2 separate regions of the Homo sapiens genome follow, and region 1 is linked to region 2. The links are contacts of gene promoters, found by promoter capture Hi-C in human tissues and cell types (Jung and others, 2019). All regions are on one chromosome and are shown on one strand. Each heading gives the region's core, a stretch centred on a gene start or on the middle of the fragment in contact. The rest is flanking DNA. Distances are from core to core; before and after follow the strand shown. Region 1 holds the start of CLEC12B (C-type lectin domain family 12 member B). Region 2 holds the start of CLEC7A (C-type lectin domain containing 7A).

What was found. Contacts are between HindIII fragments. The study calls those that stand out against the background at their distance.
Region 1: the fragment with the promoter of CLEC12B here is called in contact with the fragment with the promoter of CLEC7A in region 2 in 3 of the 25 tissues and cell types used here (hippocampus, lymphoblastoid cells and thymus).

Annotation. Positions count from the first base shown.
Region 1 is chr12:10,008,766-10,012,198 of GRCh38, forward strand. CLEC12B (C-type lectin domain family 12 member B) reads left to right here and starts at 1,862. Exons shown (of 6, transcript NM_001129998.3): 1 at 1,862-2,085. The coding sequence starts at 1,995. The HindIII fragment of the contact is 4,454 bases long and covers 572-3,433 here.
Region 2 is chr12:10,128,200-10,131,725 of GRCh38, forward strand. It overlaps CLEC7A (C-type lectin domain containing 7A), which reads right to left and starts at 2,000. Exons shown (of 6, transcript NM_197947.3): 1 at 1,781-2,000. The coding sequence starts at 1,883. LOC105369655 (a long non-coding RNA gene) reads left to right here. Exons shown (of 4, transcript XR_007063208.1): 2 at 2,882-3,041; 3 at 3,486-3,526. The HindIII fragment of the contact is 18,210 bases long and covers 1-3,526 here.

The sequences.
Region 1 (3,433 bases), core at 612-3,111, 120 kb before region 2:
TTGTTCAAGCTAAGCATCATTTCATGGATAGTGAGAAGTTAATACTTTGTTAGGAAGCTTTAAGGTATGTGAAAGAATTAAGGAAATGAGGATGAAAACCCAGTTTTTGCAAAATCTGGTGAAAGTCATGAGACGTGAGGCCAGCCAGACTTCCTGAATCGAGTGGGGACTCAGGGAACTTTCCTGTCTTACAAGAGGATTGTAAAACGCACCAATCAGTGCCACGTAAAACGCACCGATCAGCGCTCTGTAAAACGCACCAATCAGCAGGATTCTAAAAGTAGCCAATTGCGGTGAGGATTGAAAAAAGGTCAGTCTGATACGACAGAAACGGAACATGGAGGGGACAGTAAGGAAATAAAAGCTAGCCACCCCAGCCAGCAGCAGCAACCCGCTTGGGACCCCTTCCATGCTGTGGAAGGTTTGTCATCCTGCTCTTCACAATAAACCTTGCTACCACTCAGTCTTTGGGTCCGTGCCATCTTTAAGAGGTGTAACCCTCACCGCAAAGGTCCGCGGCTTCATTTTTGAAGTCAGCGAGACCAGGAACCCACCGGCAGGAACCAACTCCGGACACGGACCAGAACAGAGATAGAAAACCATTCTTAATTTCTTATTTTTGTAATCATCTATTTAAACTGGTCCTCATGTCAATGGTCTCTGCCTTTTCTGAATTCAACTAGAATAGTAAACATAAGCATAGATTTATTATTTGTTTCAATATTTTTGATAGTGGAGTTTTATTGATATATGACTTAGAGCCTCCAAACATTTTTTTGATTATTTCATCAATTTGAAAAAAAAAAAAACAAAAAACATGAACAAGTAACATATGTATATTTAGGTGTTTAGAGATCATGCACAGCGTTCCTAAAGAGAAAGTTTTTACATTGCCTTTCTGCATCTGCTTCACAGCTGTGGGGTGAGTGCACCTCACGCTGGACACCTTTGACTAAGATAATCTCCACACAGATATGAACCTTGGAAGTTTTAGATCACTCCCCACTCATCTGAAACCACAAAACTCATACCCAATCCTTCCCCTAAGTACAGTTATCTAATATTCTGCCTCTCCCCAAAGGAAAGCTTTAGAGGAGATTCCTTAATTTCGTCCCTCATATATAGCGCTCCCCCCCCATATTTTCCTGGGTTCTGTATTAACTACATATTGCTGCTGTAACAAATTACCACAGATGTATTAACTTCCGGTAGTTATCTTTTTAAAATCTTGTCCTGTGTATTCCTTGCTGTCTGCAGGATTATCCCATGGTTGTTGTTCTGTTAGGAACTTTCCCAACCATGCCAGAAGAGGGCACTCCCATTCATACTCACGTTAAGTAGCTAAGTAGCTATCAGTTTCTTCTCCATGCTCCATTACCAACACCATGTCTCTCTCTCTCTGTCTCTCTCTCTCTGTCTCTCTCTGTCTCTCTCTCACACACACACACACACACACACACACACACACACACGCTTGAATTTTCTATAATAGCAGCCAGGTGTGTGGCACAGCTCTTTCTGTCTTAATGTGTGTCTCTCTGCTTAATATCTAATGTGGCTGAGAATAAACTAGAACCAATGTCTCCAGGCAGATTAGCTAGCCTTAGATAGATGTAAAGAAGACAACCTGACTCTTTTCTGAAACATTCAGAGCATCCTCTACCCCGAGGATCATGGGAATTCCCTCATGTTCCTCCTGCTCTGCCTCAAGCACCCCTTCTTTGCTGCACAGCAAGAAACAGTTCTGACAGAGCAGACAGTTTGAGATCTGTAACATTCTAATGAGAATATCTCTAAGGAGAATATTTGGCTTTTCTCACTTTCTCTGTAGAGAAACAAATTGTCATTCTTCTCTTACAGAGGGGCAGTAGAGTGTGTCTGGGTCAGCTGAGTGACTACATCAAAGCTCCCAGCCTTGAAAAACACATGCTGTTCCCAGGCCTCAAGATATTGAAACATTAATTAGATAATTTAAAGTAGCGTTTTCTTCTACAATGTCTGAAGAAGTGACCTACGCGACACTCACATTTCAGGATTCTGCTGGAGCAAGGAATAACCGAGATGGAAATAACCTAAGAAAAAGAGGTAGGAGTTCAGAGAAGACCAGCTGTGTCCTTGGGGGAGTGGACAGGTGTTAAATGCTTTGAGGTGCCAGCTTTAATACTGGCGTTAAAGACATGTGCTGTGAAATCTCCAAAATGGGGACAAATAGTTGTGGAATGTATTAGAAAAGTGAGTGTTCCCAAGGTTGAAGTGAAAATATGTGGCTTTCAGAACCTCTTTAAAGTTGTGTGATATCACACAGTCAGAGAAATTCTGACTGCACATGCCAGAAATTGAGCTTGGGGAATTAGAGATTTCTTCTTATGAATATAATCCTTGATATTTATACCTTGTTAGAGATGCCAGGAGGATATTCTTTCAGAAACCAGATTGGAGGCTTCTAAAATAGAGAAGGTAGAGGACGTTTTTCTTTTAGATGATGTAAGTTACTTAAGAGAAAACTGGAAGATGAGTGAGTGGATTAGAAATAGATCAGAGCTAATTTTTCTTTTGTCAGTATTTTTTCAAATTTTAGGGTAGTTGAAATCCGAGCATAATTTGTAATGTTGAACCAGTAATAATAGTATCTGGGTAGTATTTTATGTACATTATATACAGATATAATTGTAATGAAAATCCACAATAATATTCGAATATTAGTATTTTCTCCATTACATAGATGAAAAAACTGAGGGTGAGAGAAATTAGATAATTTAAGCAAGCTCACACAACTGCTATGTGGGGAAGCCCAGTCTCAGTGCTGGTCTTCAGCTCATTCTCTTATGCCTAATTGGAAAAATAGCAGTCTCCATGGTCAAGACTCTGATTTAATATATAAGACCACATCTCTTATTTTCAGATATGTTAACTATCCAGGTTCTCCTGAATCATGTCAGTCATCTGAACTACTTTCTCCTGCCCTCTAGATTTATCTTTACATTTTGTGTGGTGCATGACATTTGAGGGAAGGATATTTACAAAAAGCCGATGGGAATAGACTTTGCATATGTCTAATAAATGTGGTTACACATTTTTGCCTTGTTTTGTTTTACTTTTTAATTCTAATTCTAACCTGTGAGGAAAAAGGAGGTGTGGATATGGTGCATATCACAGTGTACCTAGAGTCTGTCATGCTGTATCTAAAACATTGCGCTAGATGTTATTTGGACCTAAATCAAGGGATATGAAGCTAAGGAAAACATGACAACCATTGATATTTTAAACAACAACAATGACTAGGATGCTAACGGCTTTCTGGTCTATTCTGCTGTTTGTAGGTTAGACTGCACATTCTTTCCTTCTTTCATTCAGTATTCATTCATTATTTATTAGGTGATAAATAGCATGAATAATAGATAAGTTATTGTTAACAGGTAAAAGATACTTTAAA
Region 2 (3,526 bases), core at 750-3,249:
CTGTTAAAACACACACACACACACACACACACACACACACACACACACCACCAACAACAACAACAAAAAATACTGGCAAATTTTTAAGTGAATTATTAATCACTGCCTAGGTTACCTGGTCACCTAGGATTTGCTGTGCTTCTCCACCAGTAAGGATACCTTCTTCTTCAATTGCTGGAATTGTAATTTCGGCACATTGGCTTGATAACTGTATGCTCCTAATTTCAGTTCCACATTGACATCTACAGGTCTTGACATTAGTAGGATCCCTGAAATCCCACTGATTCTTAGAGGAAATAGCTTAATGTTGGGGAGATAGCACTGATTACTAAGGGTAATTTTCCCTTTTCATATGTTTGTTGCATGACCCTGGGCAAATTACTCCCTTTGTTGTTTTTTATTCCTCTTTGTGAAACTGGGGTAATAATATCTCAAAGGATTATTGCGGGAATTAAACGAGCTAACACATATAAAAGCACCTTGTTTAGAGACTGCTAGCACATGATAGGTGTGTTGTTGCAGGATACCGTTTGCCTACACATATGCATAAACATGCGCATGTCTCCCTACCTCTTGCCTCATCCACTTTTTCCACGCTTCCTCAATAGGTTGCCCAAGAAAAGAATTACATCAGTGCTGAGAGGAAAATATTTGTGCAGTGTGAATAACCAGAAAGCAGAAGAAAGCAAACTCTGGTGTCAAAACCGACAAATGATCTCTCTCTCTCAAAGATAATAGGGAACTAATTTTGTATGAACATTGCCATAACCAGAATGTATTTCTGCTTTCCACTGTGACTAAGCTGTCAGGACATTTCATAGAATTGTCACATAGGAGAATCGTAGAGTAGGCTAAATCACCCATTCTATGAATACAGAGATCCTCCAATGCCCTTCTTTCTATTTCATTTCATTTACACTTTGTTTAAGACTCATGTCCTGCTGGTGGGATGTTTTTATCTACCATATGTTCATATATTTTCCATCACTGGTATACCAATAATTGTTTTTTGTTTAAAAACAATTTAAATTAATCTCTTACCACAAAAAAAAAATGTTGTTCATATATATACTTCTTTAAGTTTCCTGGCCTCCATTCGATAATCTAGCCTTTCTATCAAACAAGCAACAAGTCACTCATACAGAAATCCTTTATCTTTGTGTATTATCCCACTTATTACCAATTCCTCACTGATGAAATGTCTATATCTATAGAAAAGAGAAATTCTATTTTCTGCCATCAGACATAATTAATTTAAACACTAATAATTGGTCACTGAATAATTTTCATGAAAAAAGGTTTAGGGTGCATTCAATTTATCTTCAGTGACATCTGAAGCCTTTAAAAGTATATCCATAAAAATATACACATCACGAGGCTCTCAAATTTTCTCCCCTTATATCTTTTTGTTTTGTTTTTATTTTTATTTTTTTTCAGAGATGGAGTCTTGCTCTGCCACCCAGGCTGGAGTGCATTGGCATGATCTTGGCTCACTGCAACCTCCACCTCCCAGGTTCAAGTGATTCTCCTGCCTCAGCCTCCCAAGTACCTGGAACTACAGGCGTGCACCACCATGCCCGGCTAATTTTTGTATTTTTAGTAGAGACAGAGTTTCACCACGTTAGCCAAGCTGGCCTCGAACTCCTGACCTCAGTCAATCCACCCGCCTCGGCCTCCCAAAGTGCTGGGATTACAGGTGTGAGCCACCATGCCTAGCCTCCCCTTATATCTTTTCAAACGGGAGAGCTAAAGGCACACATTAGAAAAAACATATATATACCTTTCTCTGAAACAACAGCTATCCTGGTATTGCTTTGAGAGTCGAAGTGTAATTGAGTATATCCATCTTCATCCAAATTTTCTAAATCAGGATGATATTCCATTGTTCTTGAGAGCCCCTGAATAGATATAGCATTTGGGAGCTCTTTTCTTTCTGCTCCTGAGATGACTGTCTGTGGACAAAAGAGAATCTCTGAGTCAAATCATGTGGGCTAGGTACTTACCGGAGTTTAACAAATTAAGCTTAAGTAGTTCAACCAGATATTCAAGAGCAGGAAATGAAACTATGCTGTGGTAATTTTCCATTTGTACCTTTAGATCCTGTTTCTGAGACTGCTGACTCAGGAAAACTAAAAGGCAGCATAGCAGATGAGTCTTTGTTTCAGACCAAATGTAAGAAAAATGCATACATTAATGTCTTATGCTGCCTTCATTACTCTCACAACTAAGTCTGACATTAATTAATTTAACCGATGCAAACTATTTCAGTTTTGGTGCTCCAAGTTTACCATAACTTTGTTCATGTATTTATTCATGTATTTTTTAAATTACATAAACAGGTACTGGATGCCCACCTTTTCAATTGGTAGGAGCTTACAATACAAGGAAAAATGATACCTATGAAGAAACTCATTGCTTAATAAAGGAAATATATAGATAGGTAAATGAGGGATGGCATGAGGAGATGCATTGTTGTAACAACAGACAGAGAAAACAAATCTCTTTGGGAATTATCAGATATTAACACAAAATAACATTTATTGAACAATTACTATGAGCTAAGTACCACATGTTGTACATATTTTCTTGTTCAATCTCACTTTTCCAAGTCTATATAGTAGGCATTATTATTTCTATTTTCAAATGAAAAAATGAGACAGAAAATTTAGCCTCTTTCTCAGGTTTAAGAAGCTAATTTTAAAAATTTAGAGCAAGGAATCAAATCAAAGCTGACTCTTGCTGCAAAACTCGTGGTCTTTTCTGTTACGCTACACTGCCTCTTTCATCATTCCATACACTTATATTGCAAGGAACAGCTTATGGAAGGTGTTGGGACTGAAATATTATGTTAGATGTTTGATTTTTTTTCCCTCTCTTCCAGTTTCCATAGTAATGATCAAATCAAAGAAATATAGAAAACACCTAACATTGCTGGAAACTGAAGAGGTGTTCAACTCATTTATCCGACCTTGAAGCCAGTAGAGTGCAGGAGACATCTGAGTGTTGTCAAGGATCAACAAATCTGGATACTAGTTAATGTGGTGAGGACAGGTTTTATTCAGTAATACTATTGCAACAGGAACCAGTGCAGCATTAACTGAACTCAACTTCCCCAAAAGTAAAGCTGATGACATTTTAAAGTGGAGTTTGCTAAGGAAAAGATACTGAGTGGTGTTAAGGAAAGTTAATGTGACTAGACTCTCTGGATTTGTTAATTGGCCCTTATCCAGAGGACAGAGAAACTTTGCCTATCTATATGACAGAAGGACATGGTGATAGTTGAAGTGAAGCACCCAGCTAAGTTGGTCCTTATGCTGCATCTGAAAGAAAGAGCAAGATTTATCTCCCTGAATGTTTGCATTTCAAAGAAACAGCTCCCAAGTCCTTGAAGAAACAGTTCTGTGTGGTAGATTTGCTTCTCAAAGGGCAGAGAAAGAATTTAACTGTAAGATTTATTTTTCTTTTCTTTCTTTTTTTTTTTTTAGACGAAATTTCGCTCTTGTTGCCCAGGCTGGTGTGCAAATGG